Regions from separate parts of the Homo sapiens genome. Here region 2 is linked to region 1. Evidence: promoter capture Hi-C in 16 types of primary human blood cells and fetal thymus (Javierre and others, 2016). All regions are on one chromosome and are shown on one strand. Each heading gives the region's core, a stretch centred on a gene start or on the middle of the fragment in contact. The rest is flanking DNA. Distances are from core to core; before and after follow the strand shown.

Region 1 (6,794 bases), core at 1,343-3,842:
AGCTCTATCTTAGTCAACTATTTTATTTTCATCATGACCTGCTTTGTCACCTTATAAAATGGGTAAGAGTGACAAGTGAGCAAGTATGAGGCAGAAATACCTTAGTATAATTTTTCTTTCATTATTATAGAAATACTAGAAACTTCTCAAAACCGTTACTTTCACTAACTCGCCAAAGAAATCACAATTATTTAAAAAGTAAAGTCTACAGAAAATCTCAACTCTGAAATAGCACCACCACCAACCACACAGTATGGACAAAATAATACTGGTATGGAAATGGTTCTCCTGAGAGGATACGCTGGGGCAGTGGTGGAATAGGAATTCCATGAAATCAATTTCTGCCTCTACTAGTTAATTATAATTCCGCTGCTGCTGCCTTAACCTCAGGAGGCAGCAAGGGATAAAAGAAAAGGATCAGGATTTGGAAACTGGTAAGCCTAAATCAGTGCCAGCTCTTCAATTTACTATAATTTCATTTAATTAAAGAAGCCCGCAGTGATCATAATACATATCTCAAGTTCAGAGTGTTAAAATGGTGGGTGTCTTAGAATCAAAGAAATACAGTATCTATTTTTTTCATTACCTGAATTTCCACAACAGTAAAATGAGAATAATGTGAGGTGAGGATTAAACAAGATACAGTAAATGACTGGTGCCCTACTGTAACAAAGTTCATTACAGCAAAGATGAGCATGCCACAGCACCACATTGTGCTATCTGCTGCTACAGTCTGACATGACACACTTAGTCTTAAAGTTACATATTACTCTCTCCCTAACATGAGCATTATATATAAAGAGGTCTCACTGCAGTGGCAAATCCACAAGGCATTCTCATCACCCAAAACATAAAATACAAAAATCTTAATTCTAGATGAACCTAGGACAATCCCTATTTAATAACGTACTTTGGACTAAATAATTCAAACTGTTTTTGAGTGCATGTGTATTGACTCTTGAAGAAGAATGTGTTTAGAGACATTTCTTAAGTTTTAACCTACAGCTCTGTCATAAAGACAAGTGTAAAAGAAACATCAAACCAACACCAAAAATCGATTTTGACTAATCTCCTATCTGGTTCAATTCCTAGCTAGCTTGCTAGTTTGCATGAAGCCTCGCCTGCTTCTAACACTACCTTTAACCAGGAATTTCCTCATCTGTAAAATGAAGGGGTTGGACTTCAGTGAACTCCAAAGGCCCTTCTCGCCCCACAATCATATAATTCTACAGTTAAAGCTTACTGTAGAAAATGACACAGTACTCCAGTGTATCCTAATCTCTTCCAGGACAGTGTTTCTCAAACTAATGCGCATACAAATCACCCTGGGATCTTATTAAAACCCAGATTCTGATTGAACAGGTCTGGCCTGAGTATCTTCTAATTACCTGCCAGGTGGTGCTCATGATGCTGGTCTGTTGATCACACTGTAAGCAGCAAGGATCTAGGATACTTTCCTTAACCTCCCAGTTCCCCCAAAATATGACTGTCCCTGCTTCCATGCATCCTTATATACTTTTAGCATATCACTTTATTGTAACTACTTCTTGATCCACTTGTTTTCCTTTAGACTTTGAACTGGCTCAGGGCATCACTGTATCTCTAGCACCTAAACACAGCGCAATTTCAAACAGCGACCCAAAACTGAATTTCATAACGCAGTGTAGCACAAATCTTTTGCCCAACGTCACACAGATGTAGCGGTAATGCAAGTTTTTAACAACCAGTCCTTTAGACTCCCAGTCCAGTGCTCTTTCTCCTGTACCACAGTGCCTCCCTGAGGCAATCGGTCACTTAACTACTCAGTCTCTGCCTGGACAGCCCAAGAGTGCCCAAGATGTTGTCCACTTGGTTGTCGTGGGACCATGAGCAACCAGAGTCCTCAATCTCACAACTGTGCCTGATCTGCCCCATGCTGGATCTGACATCACTTGTCCTGGATTCCTGGAGACTCCTATTCTGAACCCTCTCCCAGACACCTCCTTCCAACCTTCCTGCAATTTCAGGTGCCACACTCTCTCCAAATTCAAACTCCGAACCTTCCACTGGGAACTCCTGCACTGATTTTCTTAGTCACCCCAAACTGTAAGGTCTCAAAGGACCATTAATCTGACACTCGGTCCGATGGTCCCTTAGAAGTGCGCCCACACACCGCCCCTAGGGTTCCACACCGAAGCGGTCCCCGTGCCCCAGGCACTTACGCTGCGCAGCGGAAAAGGCGGCGTGGGCTAGGGCAAAGAGACCGATGCCCACCAGCCCCTTCCACAGCGACGGCGCCATGATGCCGAAGGAGCAGCAGCCCAGCAAAAGAAGCGAAGGACGGCGGAGCTGTTTCTTCTTCCACCGGCGGGTGTCCGCGCGCCGCAGAAAGATGACGTCACTGAAGTCCTGAGCGCAAAGTGTCTCAGTGGTGGAAAAGCCAGAGGGCTGTGAGAAAACGGAAACAGGAATGCCGGGAAGAAGCAGAAAGCTACACGGAAAAAGGTCCGCGAGAACCCACGAACCTGCGCTATGGAGGCCTCTCTAGGAGGGCCGGAGCCCAACGGAGTCATAAACGAAGAGGCGAAAGCGGGAGCTACGGGGAAGCGAAGAGGAAGGGCGCCGGCAAATGGGGGCAGGGCCAGTGGCGAGAACAGGGTGGGGCAGAGGGACGGGGGCCTGCGTAGAGAACGTGTGGGGGCGAGGGGCGGGGTAGGCAGACGGGCGGGGTGGGGAAGACGCGCGGGGCCCGCACGAGGGTGGGTGTAGCCGAGGGGCGGGGCCAGTGGGTGGGTGGGTGGGCGTAGCCGGGGGGGGGGGGCCCTGGTGGGTGCGGTCGAGTGGCGGGGCCTGCGGGGAGGATGGGTGGGGCCGAGGGGCGGGGAGGAGGTGGGGCCGAGGGGCGGGGAGGAGGTGGGGCCGAGGGGCGGGGAGGAGGTGGGGCCGAGGGCGGGGCCTACGGGAGGATGGGTGGGGCGTAGGGGGCGGGGCGGAGGGGACGGAGAGTGGGTGAGGGCCGAGGGGGCGGGGAGGAGGTGGGACCGAGGGGCGGGGAGGAGGTGGGACCGAGGGGGCGCGGAGGAGTGGGACCGAGGGGGCGGGGAGGAGGTGGGGCCGAGGGGCGGGAGGAGGTGGGGCCGAGGGGCGGGGCTGGGGGCGTTGGGGAAAGGCGGTAGGTGCTGGATATAGACCCCTGACAGTTGTGTTTTGTGGGTTGGTTGGTTTTGGCTTTTTGTGAAACTGTGCCTTTTGTTTTCTGTAGGCCTTTCCTGTGCTTCAGCTCCCTGGAAACTGGCACTGCAGAAGGAGGCAAGGGTGTTAAAACGAGGAGGCAGTGTCAGGACAAAATCCCAGGATCTGGAACCCCAAATACTTGGCTCGCGGGAAGTGCTCAGTAAACCATTTTAAGGTCCTGGAGAAAGATTCGCGCAAAAAGAGGTGTAGCGCGGGGGGAGTGTTTTGTCGTGAAAAGAACCAGCTTACATTAAGGAAGAAATGAAAGAGGAAATTTTAAAATGCTAATAACGCAGCCTTCTTGCCTTGTCTCTATCTCTGATCCGGGTAAAATGTATACTCCTCTGCCCATTTTTCTTTGTCTTCATCTCCTGAAATGTAGACATTTAATAGTGAGCTTCTCCCCTTGACCTCATCACTCTGCTGTCCCCTGGGGAGCTCACCCATTCATTCCCACCGCTTCAGCCAGCAAAGGTATTACAGTGATTCCAAATCGACATCTCTATCACAAATATCTCTCCTTAGCTCCAGGGCTGCATTTCTGACTACCAGATAGGCATTTATTTCCTGTGGCACTTAAAACGTAATATGGCTAAAATGGAATTCATCCTTTTTTTCCAAATTCTGCACCAGTTCCTCCAGTGACCCCTGACTGAGTGGCAAAGCTTTGTAAACTGCATATCACAAGGTAAATGCAAAGTATGATCACCATTCTTTTCCTTTAACCCAATCAGAATTCTACGTTTTAGTTGCATCAATTTGCTTTTGCTCAAAGATGCGTCCTATCCTGACCACCCCTTTTAAATGTGCAAAATTCCTATTCCTGATCCCCTTATTCTGTTCTACTTTTTATATCACCTTCTAACATACTATATAATTTAACTATTTATGTTTGTTGTGTTACTGTTTACTGTCTGTCTTTCCCCACTGGAATGTAAGCTCTGAGAGAACAGAGATTTCTCTGTACCTAAAACTTTGACTGTCATGTGATAAGCATTCAATAAGTGCTTGTTGAATGACAAATGAATTCCGGAAAATAATTGGGACAGTATCCCTATTTGAAAGGATCTCTACAGAGAGTCCTTCCAATCTTTTGAATTGGGCTCAAAAATCCCCATGGACTTGCATGTACTCTCACATTTTGACAACCTTTTGATTGTAAACATTTTCTGATATGCTTGAGCTTCCTCAAAGCTGGAAAAACAAATAAGACATCTCATTAGCTGGGCATAGTAGCACATGCTTGTAGTCCTAGCTACTTGGGAAGCTAAAGAAGGAGGATTGCTTGATCCCAGGAGTTCAAGGCTACAGTGAGCCATGATTATGCCACTGCACTACAGGCTGAGTGACAGAGCGAGACCCTTTCTCTAACCAAAAAAAAAAAAAAAAAAAAGTAGAAGAAGACATCTAAAATTAATCATATTTCCTCAACTTTACTTATATAATTTTTGTCCTGGATCTCATTTTCCAAACCTTTAGTCATGTTCATTATTCTTTTCTGGGCCCTTTCCAATTTCTTCACCTCTAAGCCAGAATTTTACACAATACTTGATGGATGTCAAGTGCAGTATAATGCATTCCTTACAAATGTAGTTCTATTTATACAATCAGGAAGAACCAGGAGATAATCTCTCTGTAGTTGACAGGAAAGTGCTTCCTTCTCCGCCCCTGGGAGGTAATAAGGTAGAAAAGATAGTTGACCAAAAAAATCTTACAACTTTGTTTTGTCTAAAATAATGGTCAGATTGAAATTAGCCTTTTCAGATCCCCTGTAAAATTACCCCTTCTTCCAGACCAGCCTGGCCAACATGGTGAAACCCCATCTCTACTAAAAATACAAAAAATTTGCCGGGCGTGGTGGTGGGCCCCTGTAATTCCAGCTACTCAGGAGGCTGAGGCAGGAGAATCGCTTGAACCCAGGAGGCGGAGGTTGCAGTGAGCCGAGATCACGCCATTGCACTCCAGCCTGGGCAACAAGAGTGAAACTCCATTTCCAAAAAAAAAAAAGAAAAAAGAAAAAAACCCTTTTAATATCAATTTATCTGAAGCAGAAAATGATTAGGAGTTTTCTTATAGGACCTGAGATCTGGTTCTTTTCCTTTAAAAAGATGAAGTTATAGGAAAAAAGAAATTCAATAATGAATCTGGTATTTGTATAAACCACCAATGCATTATCCTAGTCTTCAGGGAGATCACCCATGTCCAGATATTGAGTTTTGTTTTCTCTATTGCCCTCTTAAGATGCATTTCTCACTCTTTTTTTACCTCTTTACCCATATACTGAATGCAAGAGAAACTAGCCTCGTTTCACATTTTCTAGTAATACATGGTTAAATTATGTTCAGGGAGTGAGATTTTAATTGTCTTTTCTGTAGATTCCAACCTGAAGGGAAGCCAAGGTATTCATAGTCACAGTTACCAAGGACTGTATCATTCAAATAAGTACCTTGGGTTCACTCATACATGGTTCTTTAAGTTGCAGTTAATCCCAAAGGTGCAAGGTACAGCTAGTGGTAGCACTGTTTTCATGAGCTCTTAGAACAAAAGTCAAACCTCATGAGAAAGTGCATTTAAATTCCTAAGTGACCCCAGAAGTGCTGTTTGTTTTTCCAAAGAAAGAGCCATTTTCCATATGCACCTTGGATAAATGATGTGGATGTTATTAAAGATGGGGATAATGGTCTCTAAAGCGTTTCCTACTGAGATGTTATTTGTGAAGACTTATCACGTTTCCCAGGCTAGTTCACTGAATAGAGAAAGCACTGCTATCCCAGACTCATCTTCAAGCTAATTGACTTATTACATGCCACCCAGCTCCACGAGTATCTTCACACACTGCTTATCCACGTCTCCATTTTCCATGCAGATTCTCCCTCGATCTGGCACACTGTTCTTTCCCACCTGGTTCAAAATTCCACTTTCCTTAGGAATATGCTCCTGACTATTATAGATATTTATGAGATATATACCTATTGTAGGCACAAAACCTTTCTTTGAGCTATTTATATTTCGTACAACCTCTCTGGGTAACACATTCTAGAAGTTTACTACCTGCCGAGTAAACTAGTACTTTCAATATTGAAATCGCATCCTGTTTACTTTTTTTTTTTCATTACCAAAGTGGTATGAGCTCATTGTAAGAAATTCAAACAATAAAAAAAAGTATTTGTCTTGAAGCATTAAGTGGTACCTTGGTATTTTAAGTTTTGAATCTGAGTAAACAGTACTGTGGTTACATGATTCATATCTTTAAGATTTGTTTACTTGCTGGATGATCTACACTACAGTGGTTAAAAGCATATGCTCTGGAATAGTTTTGGGTTTGAATCCTTGCTTTTCCTTTTCTACCTCTGAGAGATTGGAGAAGTTACTTAACTTCACTGCGCCTCAGTTTTCTCATCTGTGAAATGAGGATAATAATAGTGTTTACCTGCCTAGGTTGTTATCAGCATTGAGTGAGATCATACATATAAAGTGATTAGAATAGTCTTACACATAGTAAACACTAAGTAAATGTCAGCCATTGTTGTTGTTGCTATTGACCCTTCTAGCTATTTTTGTAAGCTAAAGAGGTTCCTTAC
Region 2 (6,794 bases), core at 1,652-4,151, about 14 Mb after region 1:
GGGGCCTGCATTGGGTACGGGTGATGGGGTCCACATGGTACCTGGCATATAGCAGGCTGTGCAATCCATATTAACTGACTGGATAAATTAATGCCCAGAAAAGGTGCCCTGGAGAATGGGTGTGTGCTGAACACAATAGGGAAGGGCCCAGCATCTGCCTTGGCATAGGCAGAACTGTGCTGTGCCCTGCAACAGGCCACCTGAGAGCTGCTTTGATCTTGTGTGTACATTAGATGACTGCCAGGGGCATGAAGGGGATGTGCTTCCAGGGCATTTGCTGGCAGGGCGTCTCGTGATCTCTTGGTATTGGTGTGAGCACAGCCTGGCAGGAGAGGGCAGATCTCCATGCAAAGTATGTCAGAAAGCAGATGGAAGCCAGGCCCCCTCCTGAAAGAGGCTCCTTGAAGGTAGGTGCACACTCATGTCTTTGTTACTTGTAAGGGGGCATCTTACAGGCAAGAGGAGTTAGGTGAATGTGAAGAGGAAGGAACTACTCTGGGCAGGGGGCTGGGGGACGCTTCGTAGAGGAGGGGGTGTTTGAGCTGGGCCTTGAAGGTCAAAAGGGTTTTGTTAGGTGGGAAATGGGGGAAGGACAGTCTGAAAGGGTTAGGTACATTCAAGGAGCCCAGAGAAGGTTCGTGGCTGGAGCAGACGCATTCGTAGAGTGAAGTCATGGGAGAGAAGAGGCTGGGAAACTAGATTGGTTCCAACTCCTAAAGGACCACTGAAGGAGTGTGGGCTGCACGCTGGGTGCAGCAGGTGAGTTTCCTCACTTGGGTTTCACTGTCAGCATTTTAAAAAGGCAAACTGGTTTTCTTCCTGAGAAGAATTCATTGATTCACTTGTGGCCAGTAAGTCATCTGGGCCAGAGGTTGGTGGGGAGATGATAGGGGTGCAAGTGTCATCTTCAATCACAGCATAACTGCCCTTGCTTTCTTACCTCTCGTTTAGATATTTCAATGCTTGCTCAGGTCCCCTGCGCCCTCCTTCCTTCTCCCTTCCCAGCCATACTACTTATGGGATGACTTTCTCTTTGTAAAATGACCGTTAGTCTTATCAAATTAATCCCAAAGTAATACCATCAATTTCCCCCTAAAATACCAACAAGACCCCTGCTTGAAACTGCTTGTACATTAGAGACAGAGAAGAGTCCATGAGAATCAACATTTTCTGAGGACTCCAACTGTGTGCCAAGAGAGTTCCCCTGCTGGTGCCTCCTCTGTAGTAAAGGAAAGGTAACATTCCTGCAAGGCTTTGAAGCTTACAGCGTGCTTGCCCTTAGATTCTTGTGTTGTGTTCTGGGTCAGCAGGAATGCCTCGCCAGGTCCTTTTTCTCATCCTAATGTGACACTGAATTCTTCACAGGCTCCTGGGACCACATTATCATTCTCTTCACTCGAGAGATGAGGACACTGAAATTCAGAGAGGGGAAGTGATTTGCCTCAGCTTGTACTGTAAGTGATCAAGGCAGGACTCAACCAGTCTTTTTGACCCTGACTATGGTGATTTGATCTCTACACCACAAGATGGTGGTGGAATGGTGGAATATGGTAACTAGAAGGCCCTTTCTAGCTCAGGACACATTTGATGCTGTGACTGTTTGGGAATTCAGTCCTGACCAATTTAAGAGGTTGTGTTTCTTAGCTGTCTCTGGCTCCTGGTTTGCCCAGTTTGATTCTGTGCCTGCCTAGCAAAACCTCTCTGTCTGTGGTCTAAGAAGCCTGACATCTCTGAACTAGTCCTCTTCCTGTCCACTCAATATCGACAGAATCTCATGGTATGTCCTCCTGGCTCAGCCATGGAATAAAGCCAGCTCTGTTGTTTTTGTCCTTGTGTTGTGCCCCAGCTTAGGAAGAATAACTCTTCAGGCTGCCTCTCCCATGCTAGGTCACATGCAGGTCACACATTCCCAGGTAAATTTTGCACTTTGTTTATCTGGAATTTGTCTTAATTTCCTTGTCCTTGTTTCTGATTGTGTACTCTCTTCCCTTCTGTCTCATTATCTGGGCCCTATGTCTTTTCTCATGGTTTCTCTTCTGTAAGTCTCTAGACCCGATGCAAGTACACAGTGAAGTGAATGAAGTTAAAGATAAAGCTTCAGTGTCTCTTGCTTGAACAGCCCTGGAAGGAGCCCTAGCATTATGGTCCTACAGTTGTATGGTTTGGAAAATCTACAAAAGATATTTTAACCACAGTTGGTTCAGGGAATCTTTCTTTCCACTATGCTGTCTCTATCCCTCTTGCCTGTGTGTTGGGTAGCAATGCAATGACCATGGTCATATTGAGAATTCAACTAAGGGGACATTAAGTTGGGATTCATTTAGTTTAGGATATATTTTTGAGATATCTTTCAGGAGTCCACAGGCAATTCCATATATTTCCCAGTTTTTGCCAGCTGCCCTTTATTGGAATAGCTTGCAGGAATACTTCTGCTCACTGTGCTGATGCATCCAGTGTTAGGACAAGAGGGGTGAGGCTGAAGGGTACATTGTAATGTCACTGTGACCTGCAGCACTTGGCATCAGGGGTATGTTGGCAGTGGAGGAGAACCAAGATTCACAATGTACAGCACCAGAAGCTAGTCTGTGGAAAAATCTTCCAGTCATCAATCAGATGTGTAAAATTGTAAGTGAAGGATTCCATTTTCACTGAAAAGCAAAAGTGCTCTCTTGTCAGAAATATACCCAGCGTGCAGTGTACGCAATTGTAAATACAAGATACATTTATTTGCACATTTGGAAGGGGATTTTGTGAAATGGCATTTTTCAGAATTCCTGTGATTGTAGGACATGGACCTGTAGAAGGACTAGAAACATTGAGTAGTATGCAGAAGAGTTTTGCTGGGCAGGCACAGAATTAAACTGCGCAAACCAGGAGCCAGAGACAGCTAAGAAACACAACCTCTTAAATTGGTCGGGACTGAATTCCCAAACAGTCACAGCATCAAATGTGTCCTGAGCTAGAAAGGGCACAGTCATAGTTCCTGTGACTGCTACCCTTAGAAAGACCTGCTTGGAAGTTACGCTCCCTGCTGGCATCTGGAAACTTGACTCTCAGAATTTCCCTAGTCAACAGTTAACTGATAAGATGGCTCACTGTGCCTTGACTGTTGATACAGAAAACGTAGTTTATGCTGAATATCTGCTTTCCTTCTGGGAGTCTGGAATTTTGGTGCATGCTAGGCAGAGGAAGTCTCTGTTACCAAACACCAGTGTAAAGTGTGGGCAATGAGTCTGGGCTTCTCTGGCCAGAAACATCACACGTGCCACTGCATATTTGTTGCCGAGAGAAGCATGTGCTCTGTGTGGCCCCTCATGGGAGGGAGAGAGCATAAGGAAGTCTGTGCATGGGCTCCTCCAAACTTTGCCTGTCTTTTCTGCTTGTGATCTGGCTGTGTGCCCTAACTACATTGCTGTAATAAATCTTGGTTGTGATTATAACTATATGCTGAATCCTGTGTTTCCAACTATAACAAACAAGAAAAGCAGGAATAACATACTATAGAAGTGCATGAGGCAGTTAAGTACTAAAGATAAGTAGCTATTTATGTTATTTTTTTCTAAATTTTCAGATGTTTCTAACATTTGTCAACGTTTTCAAATGTGTGTTCTTTTGTTTTTTTTTTCTCACTTTAAATATTTGCTTTTGTTCCCAATTTTATACTGGTAATTTTGCATTCTTATACTTAAAGAAGGCCCCAGATGTTACAAGCTTCAAGCCCCACAAAACCTGGATCTGTCTCTGTCTTGGATCCAAGACTTGCTGCCTCATGTTGGTTTTCCTGTTGTCACTTCATATTACACAGATGGGGAAATTAAAGCCAAGAGAGGGGAAGCTAACCTTACTTGGCAAAACTGGGACAGGATCCAGTTCTTCCAATTCCCAGTTTAATGAGTGCTCTTTCCCCCTATTCTGTAAAGTTTTTTGGTAACTTGTCTGTAAATATCGGTCATGGTACATTGTCCACTGGGTGGCACTCAAGAGATTGAAATTTGAGTTCCTTCTCTTTGAGTAGTTGGGTAGTCTTGAACTAGTCCCTTTCCCTCCTGGGACAGATTTTCCCAGTTTGTAAAATAAAGGGGCTGGATTTAGTGCTCTTTATAGACCTTTCTCTCTCAGATATTTCCTGAGTTTTTCATTCTAGAAATGCTGGAATCATATATTTGTAACTGAAACTAGTAATCTTCTTGTTCTTGAGTCTTCTTCATCTCTAAAGTGGACATAAAATACATACCTCTCGTGGTTGTTGTGAAGCCCGTGGCACTATTCATGGTAGAGCAGGTGATCAAAAGTCGCTTGCATCCTTCTGTCCAATTGGGAACAAAAGCTTTCATGTATAATTCTCACACCTCTCCCTTGGAATCAGACAATCTTATCAGAAAACCTAAAAATTTTTTTCAATCAATTTAGAAGTTTATTTTGCCAAGGCTAAGGACATGCCTGTGACACTGCCTAAGAAGGTCCTGGTGACATGCCCAAGGTGGTCAGGCCACAGTTTGGTTTTTAGGGAGATATAAGACATCAACTGATACATGTGAGATGTACATTCGTTTGGTCTGGAAAAGCAGGACAAATGGAAGTTGGAGGACTTCCAGGTCATAGGCAGGTTCAGAAATTTTCTGACTGGTATTAATAATTGGTTGAGTTATTATCTAAAGACCTGGAATCATTAGAAGGGAATGTCTGGTTTACGATAAGGAGTTGTGGAGACCACAGTTTTATCATGCAGATGAAACCTCCAGGTAGCAGGCTTCAGAGAGAATAGATTGTAAATGTTTCTTATTAGACTTAAAGAGTCTATTGTATCAGTCTTAAGGACAGTGTTCATGTTGATGGTAATGAGGCATGTCCGACTCCCCCTTCCTCATCATGTCCTGAACTAGTTTTTCAGGTTAACTTTGGAATGCCCTTGGCCAAGAGGAGGGGTCCATTCAGGTGGTTGGGGAGCTTAGAATTTTATTTTTGGTTTACATTCTTTCCTTCTGGCCAGGATTTGCCAGAGGCAACATCAATGGACAAACTTTTATTTTGTCCCATAGCATTGTGGAGGTGGTTTGGCTGCCTGCCCCAGGTCCATCCTGTCCCTTGGTAGGATCTCTATGGCCAAGAGACTTACAGCCAAAAGACTTATAGACAGTTTAAATGTTCTAGGCCAGACAGGAATGGACGTGGACAGGCATTTATTACTCCTTAACAATTTTGAAGTAATGTAAAAGCCAACAAACAGAAAGTAAAAGGCGAGGTTACAAAATTGCCTTATCTATCTTTAACTTCTATGCATTGAGCTACTGTAGTCTTGGTTTTAGTTACAGATTTTTAGCAATTGGCTATATAAGCAAGCCTAAATTTTAAAAAGAAGAGAAAATGAAGCATACATTTAAAAGTTCTTAAACTTTTTTTTTGAAACAGGGTTTCACTTTGTCACTCAGGCTGGAGTGCAGTGATGTGATCATAGCTTTCTGCAGCCTTGACTTCCGGGCTCAAGTGATCCTCCCACCTCCGCCTCCTTAGTAGCTAGGACCACAGGCATGCACCAGCACACCCAGCAAATTAAAAAAAAATTTTTTTTAAAGATGAGATCTCACTATGTTGCCCAGGCTGGTCTGAAATTCCTGTCCTCAAGCAATCCTCCTGCCTTAGCCTCCCAAAGTGCTGAGATTACAGGCATGAGCTACCATGCCTGGCCTAAAACATTTTTAATGGAAGTATAATTTGCAAACAGAAAACATGCCCAAATATTAAGTGAATGCACTGATGAACATTCACAACTTAACAAGATAGCCAGCACTTAAATCACAAAATAGAACACCGCTAGGACCTCTTTGTAATACCCTCCAAGTCACTACTTCTGCCCAAAGGTAATCGCTATTTTGCAACATTTTTTATTACTTTATATAAATGAGATCGTACACTGCGTAATCTTATTACTGTCTGGATTTTTATATTAAATATTGCTTGTGAGATTCATCCATGTTGTCATGTCAGCAATACTTTATTCTCATTGCCATATACTATTCCATTTTTATCAGTATACCATGATATATTTACCCATTCTGCTATTTGTACATACTGGAATTGTTCCCAGGTTTTTGTAATACAAGCAAAGCTGCTATGAACATGCTTGGATTTACTTTCTTTGGTGAATATGTATTACTGTTATGTACATGTCTAGAGGTAAAATTGATGATTTATGGGATATGCATATGTTTAATTTTAGCAGATATTGAAAAACAGATTTTTAAAGCGGCTGTAGCAATTTACATTACCACCAGCAATGTGTGAGTTCCATTTGCTCTCCGTCCTTGACAGCACATGTTGTCACTTAGGTGGGTATGCAGGGGGATCCTTTTTTGGCATGTTTACTTATTTTTTTACACAGTGCAAACTGGTGTGGTGTACCGTTTTATGGCTTTTGCCTAATGCCATCACTAAAGTTACCAAACAATTCCATCACCTCAGAAATTGCTTTGTACCGCCTCTTGGCATTCATCCCCTTCTCCATTCTCAACCCTGGCAGCCACTGATCTAATTTCCATTCCCATAGTTTTCCAGATTATCAAAGAAACAGAATGATATGGTTGTAACCTTTTGGATGTAGCTTCTTTCAGGTAGCAAAATGCTTTTGAGATTTAACTATGTTGTTGTGTTTTCAGTAGTTCATTCCTTTGTGTGTGTGTGTGATAGTCTGACTCTCTTGCCCAGGCTGGAGTGCAGTGGTGTGATCTCAGCCCACTGCAACCCCTGCCTCCCACATTCAAGGGATTCTCATGCCTCAACCTCCCAAGTAGCTGGAA

The links. The method cuts DNA at HindIII sites, captures the fragments that hold promoters and counts their contacts. A CHiCAGO score of 5 or more calls a contact.
Region 2: a contact is called between a fragment that was not itself captured here and the fragment with the promoter of MMGT1 in region 1, in 1 of 17 cell types (total B cells). The highest score is 5.3, in total B cells.

The regions. Positions count from the first base shown.
Region 1 is chrX:135,971,396-135,978,189 of GRCh38, forward strand. MMGT1 (membrane magnesium transporter 1) reads right to left here and starts at 2,593. Exons shown (of 4, transcript NM_173470.3): 1 at 2,202-2,593. The coding sequence starts at 2,280. It also overlaps a transcript of SLC9A6 not described here. RefSeq lists an enhancer at 2,142-2,671 and a silencer at 2,682-2,791. The HindIII fragment of the contact is 2,640 bases long and covers 1,237-3,876 here.
Region 2 is chrX:149,946,941-149,953,734 of GRCh38, forward strand. It overlaps EOLA2-DT (EOLA2 divergent transcript), which reads left to right. Exons shown (of 12, transcript NR_027456.1): 6 at 1-407; 7 at 1,366-1,454. Among named protein-coding and RNA genes, the nearest start is that of EOLA2-DT, 12 kb to the left of the region's middle. The HindIII fragment of the contact is 1,616 bases long and covers 2,094-3,709 here.